Regions from separate parts of the Homo sapiens genome. Here region 2 is linked to region 1. Evidence: promoter capture Hi-C in 16 types of primary human blood cells and fetal thymus (Javierre and others, 2016). All regions are on one chromosome and are shown on one strand. Each heading gives the region's core, a stretch centred on a gene start or on the middle of the fragment in contact. The rest is flanking DNA. Distances are from core to core; before and after follow the strand shown. Region 1 holds the start of GLB1L (galactosidase beta 1 like). Region 2 overlaps LOC105373883 (a long non-coding RNA gene).

Region 1 (5,115 bases), core at 1,733-4,232:
AATGCCTGTGGAGGGAGGAGCCCAGGGTGACCGGATGACACCTATCTGTCAACTCAGCTAATACCAGGGGGGAGTCTGAAACACTTGATGCCCTATTCGTTGCTCACTCACCTGGGGCTTTGTGGGATGCTGAGTTGGTTCTGCACAGCAAGGGCCACACTGTCACCCTTTTGGAACACCATGTCATAAGGGCCTTCCCCAAACATCATGGCATATAGCACGCAGCCTAGGGACTGAGCATAACTTGATTAGTCCCTAGAAGGGGACCAGTGGAGGTGACATCTCTCCCTTTACTTCTGTGGTAAAAGGAGACTCCATAAGCTAAAAAGAATACGCTGACCTCAGCCACATGGCACCACCAGGGTCCAGAGAAACTGCCAGTCAGCTGGAGGCCTCCGCAGCCCCTGTTTAGCTTAGCCCCTGCTTAGCCAGTGCCTTCACTACTGACACTGAGCTGTACTCACCTTGTTCAGGGGCACAGATTATACCACATCCGGTACAACTGGGTACAGTATCAGTGACATTTCCCAGGAAGGAAGTTGAAGTGGATGGGGACATATTGTGGTTCCTGGCGCCCCATGCAACAGAAACCAACAACCTACTCTACTCCACGGTGGGTACAGAGCCACAGCCCTCCCTACCCAGATACCCACCCACATGCTCCTCACCCAGACATCAGTCCGCTCATCGATGACACAGTGACTCTGCACAGAGAAGAGCTCTGGGGCTCGGTAGGAGATGGTGCACCGCTGGGCTGCCCAGTCCTGGAACAGTGATCCCAGAGCTCAAAAGTGGGGCACAGGTCATGGTCATGTGACCAAACTGGGACATGCACCAGAAGGGGTGGGAATGGGGAACAGGTGAGAAAAGGAACCTGGAGACTCTTTTACCTGCAGGGTCAGAGCCTGGCGGGAGCCCTCCACATGGATGCATGCTTGATTCATGGAACCCAAGTCCATTAAAACTGGCTGCCCCTCATCTCCAAGCAATATATTGGTGGGCTTCAAGTCTCTGTAGAGAAGTAGAAGTGACCTATGAGCATCTCTGGACAGGAAGGCTGGAATCCCAGCAAGCAAAAGAATCATACAGGCTGTTTCTTGGGAGAACAGAGACCTCCCATGTCTCCTGGTGAGGCTCTTCCTCTGGGCCCCAGCAAGCACACAGGGTCCTCCCACTGACCTGTGGGCATAACCCTTGGCATGAATGGCCTCAAGGCCTCTGCAGATCCCCAGCAGCAGCCAAAGGATTTGATCCTCGGTCAGGAAGTTGCCTTTGTCCTTCAGCCTTTCTATCTCATTCCACAGCGTACCTCTCTGCAACACAAGTTTCCCTACAGTTGGAGATGTTTTTGGAGCCTCTGCTCCTTAGGCCTGATCCCTTCCCTATGTCAAAGCCTATCAGCCCTTTCATGATACACACCTCAAACTCAAAATCTAAAGTGGCCAAACCCAGGACATGGTCCCTGCTTCCTAACATGCTGGACTGCTCACACAGCCCTTGAGTAGGTGGCTCTGCTGCAACCCCCTCCATAACCAGGAGTCTTTCTGACCTTGAAGAATGGTAGCAGCAGCCAGGCCTCATGCTTAGCACCCCGTTCCCTCAGACAGTAAGCCACGAGGCGAAGGATGTTGGGGTGATTGAAGAGGCGATGCATGTCGGCTTCTCGCTGGGCCTCCTCCCGGTCCTGCTGCTCGTGACACAGGATTCGCTTCAGGGCGTAGAAGTGTCCATCATGTAACCCTTCCACTAGGTCCACATAGCTGAACCCACTGTGGGCCAAAGGGGTCAATAAAGGGCCATGGTCATCTCCCACATGGCTTGGACCTAGAGAAATTTCCTGGTGGGGAGTGGGGTGTCCTTCCCATTTAGCAGAAACCTTCCCAAGATGTGGCTCTAAGAGAAATCTGAAGAATATTACACCGTGAGCTCCTCAGGAGCAGAGATATAGAAATCTTTGAGGTCCTATGGTCGTAATAGAGACCTCTGCACTTGACAGATGCTAAATAAATAATAGCCAACACTTATCAAGTACTTGTCAACCCCGCATTGGGTGAGACATTTTATACACATTATCTCATTTAATCCTCACAACTCCATCAGTGAGGGATAATAATCATCTCCATTAAGCTGATGAAAAAAACATGGTTTATCAAGGTCACACGAGGTGGATTTAGCAGGCCTGGCTCCAGAATCCACCTTCTTGATACTGTGTAGCTAGGTTCTGTCAGGTGAGAGAGGACAGGGATAGGGATAAAACCCTTGTGCCCCAAGCATATGCACACCGCTGTCCTTCAATGATCATAAACTTGAGGACTAGTTAACTGACTTCCAAACACTCACCCCTCCCCCAGTTTCTGGATGAAGAGGTAGCGCTTATTGTCAATGATGACAGTTCCCCGAGAGCAGACACACAGCGCGTGGCCCATAATGTCTCAGTCATCCTCTTCAAGGACGGTCTGAGGCTACCGAAGAGCTCGTCCAGGGTGAGTGGGCTCTTCCAGGAGATGCGCTGGGGGCCCAGCGGATCATGCTGGAAAGAAAACAACGGCAGGGTCACAGGTCCGGCACAATCCAGACGACCCATGAAGTACCAATGCGGAGAGCTCAGGCCCAGGTCTCTGGAACCTACACTATAGTGTAGAGAAAACAGGCCCTGCTCCGTCGCCAGCTTCAGGGGTGGGGTCAGGCGCCTTACGGCCTCAGGACACACAGCGGCTACCGGGCCACTTCCTCCAACCCCAGCCCATCTTTGGGCAGCCCCCGCTCCCACGCCCATCGCGCCGCAAAAGCAGAGCATAGCGTAGTTTCAGAGGACGTGCGAGGCTCAGGCCCACTCCTGGCAGGGCCCACCCCGGTCTAGGAGCCCAGAGCCCGGGATGGGCCATCTGCACTGCCGGACTGACCTGGCTCGGGCCAGAGAGAAGCGCCACCGACCGGAAGCAGTGCTGACATCATCAGTCCGCGCCGGCGTAACGGCCCGCGGTATCTCAGCAACCGCTGGGCATCCGGAGGATGTGGGGACGCGGAGCTGAGAGGCTCCGGGCTAGCTAGGTGTAGGGGTGGACGGGTCCCAGGACCCTGGTGAGGGTTCTCTACTTGGCCTTCGGTGGGGGTCAAGACGCAGGCACCTACGCCAAAGGGGAGCAAAGCCGGGCTCGGCCCGAGGCCCCCAGGACCTCCATCTCCCAATGTTGGAGGTAGGAGGCTTCATACCTCTGGCGCTCTGGGGCAGAAAGCGGCCAACTACACTGCAGCCTGGAGGGGGATCCAGTGAGGGGCGGGTCTGGTGGCCTGGTCTCCTGATCCCGTACAACCTTCTGGGCTCTGGCCTGTATCCCACTACCCCTAGTCTCAGTGGTTAAGAGCTCAGGCTTGTGAACCAGACTTCCAGTTTCTAAATTGAGTGTTAATAGCATGCTAGCTGTGTAACCTCGGGCAAGTTACTTAACCTCTCGGATCCTTACTTTTGGTAGCTGTAAAATAGGTATAATAGTACATAAGGTTAAGTAGCTTAACTGTGAGGCCAGACTGACTAGTTCAAATGACAGCTCCGTTAACGTAGTTGTGTGACCTTGGACAGGCTACTTAATGTTTCTGTCCTTTCCTCTCCTCCTCTGTAAAATGGAAATAATTATCTACCTCATGGAGTTGAAGATTAAATGAGATGTACAGTGTTTAATACAATATCTGACACATAGCCTTCAGTACGTGTCAATAAACCGTAATTATTATTACCCTGATCTTCACATCCCATTCTTGAGACTGTAAAGGCAAAAGGAACGGAAATTCACAGATTTTCGAGCTTTGGCACAAAGCAGTTGTCCTTAATATCTGTTGCGGAGGCAGGCAGGGGTAAGCTGGAGAGGGGTGCACTTCCAAAGAAGGTGGAATGGCCAGGAGGGAATGGCTGTTTTGCTGAAACAGGACTCTCCAGGAAAGAGGTCCTTCTTGTGACCTGGTTCCTCCCTTCCACACCCCGGATCACCCTGAAGATTTTCCAATGGTTTCCCCTGGTTCTGAACCTGTTTTAGCCTTTTGGTTATGACATTGATTCATCCAGATTTAACCTACTATATACCCGGCCCTGTGCTAGAGGCTGAGGATTTGAGATGAACAGGGCACTCCCTGTCCTCAGGGAGCCCAGTCAAGTAAAGCCATGCTTCTCAATTTTGAAGGTGCCTAGGATCACCTGGGAATCTTGTTAAAATACAAATTCTGATTCTATAGGTCTGAGGTAGGATCTGAGATTTTACATTTCTTTTGTTTGTTTGTTTGTGTTTTTTGAGACAGAGTCTCGCTCTGTTGCCCAGGCTGGAGTGCAGTGGCAGGATCTCGGTTCACTGCAACCTCCGCCTTCCGGGTTCAAGCAATTCTCCTGCCTCAGCCCCTACCCCCACCCCCACCCCCACCCCCACCCCCACCCTCGGAGTAGCTTGGAATACAGGCGCGTGCCACCAGGCCCGGCTAATTTTTGTATTTTTAGTAGAGACAGGGTTTTGCCCTGTTGGCCAAGCTGGTCTTGAACTCCTGACCTCAAGTGATCCACCCGCCTCGGCCTCCCAAAGTGTTGGGATTACAGGCGTGAGCCATCGTGCCCAGCCAGATTCTCCATTTCTAACAAGTTCCCAGGTGATGTCGATGAAGCTGGTTCGTGAACTGCACTTTAACATGATGTAGAAATTTTACAAACTAGTAGAGTAAGGGGGTGGCTGCAGGCTGGAGAGGAAGTCCAGGCTAAACGCCTGGCAACTTGAGGTGGTTTCCGCCCCCTTGCTCGCTGAGGTTCCCTCCCAGGAATCCGACACGTGACGGTCTGTCCGCCGTCTCAGACTAGAGGAGCGCTGTAAACGCCATGGCTCCCAAGAAGCTGTCCTGCCTTCGTTCCCTGCTGCTGCCGCTCAGCCTGACGCTACTGCTGCCCCAGGTAAGATGAGACGGTGAACCAGCCTGCCGGGTGCGGTGAGCGGGATCAGATCCAGCGGATGAGAGAAAGTCCAAAGTAACAACCAAACAACCCGCAGGGCTAGTTCCATCTCTTCCGCTCTTGGCAGGCGCTGACCCTCGACGCTCCCTCCAGGCGTCTGCTGAGCAGCGTCTCTTTCTCTTTATAGGCAG
Region 2 (5,115 bases), core at 1,682-4,181, 120 kb before region 1:
TTGTAGTAGATTAGTAAATTTATGAATATACTATTTTATAATTTCAGGAACATATGCTTCCTAATATAGTACAGTCTTTCAGTGTGGCAAAGAACATGCTTATTAGTAGACCCAAATATATTTAGCTTCTCTATATCATATAAAAATAAGATGCCAGAAGTATATACGCTTAAATTTATGCTTAGTAGTTAATGTTTCAGTAGTTTATCTTACTTACAAATGGTTCAGACATTTAATGAATATCTACTGCTTAATTTAACCTAACTTTAAGTTTGCAAGTTACCAAATAAGATTTGGAAACTGATTCAGGCAGACATACTGTAACATCAAACAAAGCTAGCCATCATCTCAAGTTATTTTTCTTGTTGACAAATCAGGTAAGTGTAAAAAATGGCCAGGCATGGTGGCTTACGCCTATAATCCCAGCACTTTGGCATGCCGAAGTGGACAGATCCCTTGAGCCCAGGAGTTCGAGACCAGCTTAGGCAACATGGCCAAACCCCATCTATACAAAAATTGTCTGTCCATGGTGGCATTCTCCTGAAGTTTTAGCTACTTGGGAGGCTGAGGTGGTAAGAATTGCTCGAGCCTGGGAGGTTGAGGCTGCAATGAGCCATAATCATGCCATTGTACTCCAGCCTGGGCAACAAAGCTAAACCCTGTTTAAAAAAAAATAACAGAAGCAAAAAACCTAAAAATTTAAATATATGGTTCTTCTCTGTCTTTTTTTAAAAACTGCTATGCTTGATATGCATCAAGCAATTTATTTTTATTGTATATTTTATTCTTAGTTTAGATTTATAGTTTTATAACCTTAAACATCTAGTTGATATAACATTGTTTGACCAGTAAACCCAGGTAAAATAAAATTGTAGTTCTGCATTCTATTTAATGCTGACAACTCCAAAGACATTTCTGCTTTTATTTTATCAACAATTTTTTTTTTTTTTTTTTTTTTTTTTTTTTTTTTTTTTTACAGAGCCTGGCTCTGTCACCCAGGCTGGAGTGCAATGGAATGGAGCCATCTTGGCTTACTGCAACCTCCGCCTCCTGAGTTCAAGTGATTCTCCTGCCTCAGCCTCCTGAGTAGCTGGGATTACAGGTGTGTACCACCACGCCCAGCTAATTTTTGTATTTTTAGTAGAGGCGGAGTTTCACCATGTTGGTCAGGCTGGTCTTGAACTCCTGACCTTGTGATCAACCTGCCTCGGCCTCCCAAAGTGCTAGGATTACAGGCGTGAGCCACTGTACCTGGCTTTTTTTTTTTTTAATCTATATAAACAAGGTCTCACTCTGCTGCCCAGACTGGATTGCAGTGGTGTGAACACAGCTCACTGCAGCCTTGAACTTCTAAGCTCAAGGGATTCACCTGCCTCAGCCTCCCAACTAGCTGGGATTACAGGCGCCTGCCACCACGCCAGTCTAATTTTTTGTATTTTTAGTAGAGGCGGGGTTTCACCATGTTGGCCAGGCTTATCTTGAACTCCTGACCTCAAGTGATCCACCCACCTCGGCCTCCCAAAGTGCGGGGATTACAGGCGTGAGCCCCTAAGCCCGGCCTACTTTTTAAACTTTTTGTAAAGACCAAGTCTCAGTATGTTGTCCAAGCTGGTTTCAAACTCCTGGGCGCAAGTAATGCTCCTGTCTCAGCCTCCCAAAGCACTGGGATTAGGGGTGTGAGCCACTGCGCCCAGCCTGCCAACAATCTTAAAACTAATTTTATTTACCCAAAAGACTTAACAAGGCCCATGTGTTCAGATTCCTGTCTGTGTCCCCATCTTTGGAGGAAGGACACCTTTCACATGGGGAAAGGATCAGGGAGATCCCTTCAGGAGAGAAGGATCAGGGAAGTCAGAGAGATTGTCCTGCACATGCTGTTTCTCAGATCCTTCCAGCTTAAAATATTCAACATGCCAGTGTGCCATGTTTCTGGGTGGCATGTCCTGAACCCTCTTATTGGATAGTATAAATGGCTATTCACTCTGAAAATCTGTTGAGCTGTATCTTTACATTCTGTCTACTTCTGTTCATATGTATTACCTTTCATAATCAAAAGGTAAAAATACTTTTTTTAAAAAAAAGCATAAAAGCTTCTAAACACAAAAGTTGGTGTCAGAAATATTCTAAATGGAAAGAGGAAAAGAGTGGCTCCTAAGATGACTGGATTATTAGAAGTAAAGAAATGCCCTCCCTTCTTGCCCAATAAACTCCAGAAGCTCCCAGAGTGGCCCTAGGCGAGAAGAGATGAGAGGGAGGGTCAGCCGTGCTCTCCAGGGAAATCCCCTTGTTTTCCCCAGGCCAGCCCCAAAGGGGCACTAGTCTACACTGAACTCTCAACTTCCAGGCAATAGAGACCACCCTTTCTCTGCTGCTTTATTTGACAGCTTAGGAAAGACTGAAATGTTCAAACAAAAATGAACAACAACAGAAAGCCTTGACAAAGGAAAGCCAGATGCAGAGGACCATGGATCCACATATCCTAAATGCAAGGGAGAGCCTGCTCTCCAGGCTCCAGAGCCTTCCACTCATGGGCTACCCCAGGAATAATAGGGACTCCTCCCTGAGTCTCCCCACTCCTGACTCCAGGCTTTCCTCCCACAGCAGGTGACATTCCTAAGTTTGTATGCATGTGCCAGCACACATTTATATATACAAGTGCAATATGTACATAGTAATGCACACACATATTCTCAAACCTACACACATACACCTCACACACATACATAAACGTAACATATATACACCTACACACACATAAACAGACACATGCGGACTTACACATGGACATCTATACAGAAACACACACATGTAAGCATACATGCACACACACAACACAGGTGCACATGCACATACAATGTTTGCAAACATATACAGCCACAGGCATAGACACACATATACACCTGGATACATATACAAACCCATCACACATGCATACATATGCTCATTCACATACTACAAATACATACAAAAAGGCATACACATATATGCACACATGCACAACATACAAACACAGAGACATGCATGTAGGCATAATACATGCATGCATACTCGTGCGCAAAAAACACACATGTGCAATACACAGATACATATACATAAATGCATGCATACACATATGCAGACAATACATAGATACATGTCACACAAACATATTGCTATATATCCATATATACATATGCAAAAACATACACATATATACACAAACACACACATCTTTATGTACACACCCACAAACACACACCCCACATACCCACACGCACATACTGCATGTGATAGCCATCCTACAAGATGACCTCCAGTGATCCTTACCTCTTGGAATTCATGCCTTTGTGTAGTCCCTCCCACAGTGTATCAGGGTTGGTCTCTGTGGCCAGTATAATATGGCAGAAATGATGGCATGGGACTTCCAAAGCTAGGTTTTAAAAACACTGTGGCTTTTGCCTGGTTCTCTCTCTCTCTCAGGTCACTCACTCCAGAGGAAGCCAGCTGCTGTGTCATGAGGCACTCAAGCAGCCATATGGAGAGGCTGATGTGGTAGGGAACTGAGACCTCCTGCCAACAGCCAGCATCGTCTTGCCAGGAGGGTGAGTCATCTTGAAAGTGGATCCTCTAGCCCCACGCAAGCCTTCAGAAGACTACAGCCAACCCTGAGTAACATCTTCACTGCAACTTCAAGAGAGACCCTGAACCAAAAATACCCAGCTAAGCCTCTCTCAGATTCCCAGTCCACAGAAACTGTGAAATAGATGTTTATAGTTTAAGCGACTAAGCTTTGGGGTAATTTGTCATGTAGCAATAAGCCATAGATATTCTTTGCTAAAACTGGATTTTTAAAAAAAGTAATAGACAATGAATACAAGTACACTACATGTACACATATACACATTGACACACACATCCCATCTACATACACAAATACATCTCCCACACATACAAACCTACATACGCACACACAAACACACATGCATACAGTACACATTGATTCATACAAACACATGCACACACATATAAACACATGGACACAACACCCATGCACAAACATATAAACACATGTATACACATATAAACACATGTACGCATGCGCAAGTCCCGAGAACCCACTTCTAGAGTCTTTGGGCTCTTCACCATCTAGATGCCCACCTGGGGCTCCCCATAGAGCTCTGACCCATCTCGGAGGAGCTGCCTCTTCTCTCTCTTTTTTTTTTTTTTTTTGAGATGGAGTTTTGCTCTGTCACCCAGGCTGGAATGCAGTGGCACAATCTCTGCTCACTGCAACCTCTGCCTCCCGGGTTCAAGCAATTCTTCTGCCTCAGCCTCCAGAGTAGCTGGGACTACAGGCACATGCCACCATGGCCAGCTAATTTTTGTACTTTTAGTAGAGACGGGGTTTCACCATGTTGGCCAGGCTGGTCTTGAACTCCTGACCTTGTGATCTACCCGCCTCGGCCTCCCAAAGTGCTGGGATTACAGGCGTGAGCCACCGTGCCTGGCCTGAGGAGCTGCCTCTTCTCTAGGAGATTCCCACCAGAGGTGATCCTGTCCTTGAGGGAAGACCTTGTTTCCCGACAAAGGGTGGTGGCCTGAGTCTTGCAGGCCTCAGTGCAATGATAGCACCATCCCCACTGGCTATCCAAGAAGAGGCACAGGCATGGTGGCCCACCCTCTCCCTATCAAGGTGGGCAGCCTTTGTTCCCTGGGGTCAGGTGGGCTGTCTCACACCTTCCCCCTGGTGAGCTGTAAGGCAGGTCTCCTGGATTCTGCTCCTGATTCTCTACCAGACCAGGCCTCTCTGCCCTTCTGGGTTTCAAGGTCTTTCACCTTGAAACCTTGGGGCATAGCCGAAATCTACAAACCCAGAGAGGCTGAAGCTGAAAGGAACTAGAATTCAACTCACAATGCATTTGTGCAACACGAGGCTGCTTTATATCCATCATCTCATTTCATTTTCACAGTCACCCTGATGAGCTGCCCATCTAACAGATAAGAGCACTGAGGCAGAGGTGTTTCATCTGGGGCCTCAGGACCCAAAATCTGTTTCATTTTGGAGCATCCAGGCTGAGCTAGGTCCTGAGCCAGACACTGAGGATGTGATAGCAAATCAAACAGACATGTCTTCTG

What was found. The method cuts DNA at HindIII sites, captures the fragments that hold promoters and counts their contacts. A CHiCAGO score of 5 or more calls a contact.
Region 2: a fragment that was not itself captured here is called in contact with the fragment with the promoter of GLB1L in region 1 in 2 of 17 cell types (M1 macrophages and M2 macrophages); the score reaches 7.2 in M1 macrophages.

What each region holds. Positions count from the first base shown.
Region 1 is chr2:219,243,311-219,248,425 of GRCh38, reverse strand. GLB1L (galactosidase beta 1 like) reads left to right here and starts at 2,982. Exons shown (of 17, transcript NM_001286423.2): 1 at 2,982-3,197; 2 at 4,783-4,924; 3 at 5,112-5,115. The coding sequence starts at 4,853. It overlaps STK16 (serine/threonine kinase 16), which reads right to left and starts at 2,947. Exons shown (of 8, transcript NM_001330213.2): 1 at 2,630-2,947; 2 at 2,341-2,530; 3 at 1,550-1,769; 4 at 1,180-1,313; 5 at 891-1,011; 6 at 669-764; 7 at 112-233; 8 at 1-5. The coding sequence starts at 2,426. RefSeq lists enhancers at 2,806-3,235, 2,684-3,266. The HindIII fragment of the contact is 6,920 bases long and covers 1-5,115 here.
Region 2 is chr2:219,361,153-219,366,267 of GRCh38, reverse strand. It overlaps LOC105373883 (a long non-coding RNA gene), which reads left to right. Exons shown (of 2, transcript XR_923917.3): 2 at 3,460-3,766. Among named protein-coding and RNA genes, the nearest start is that of DNPEP, 24 kb to the left of the region's middle. RefSeq lists an enhancer at 3,656-3,705. The HindIII fragment of the contact is 1,677 bases long and covers 2,093-3,769 here.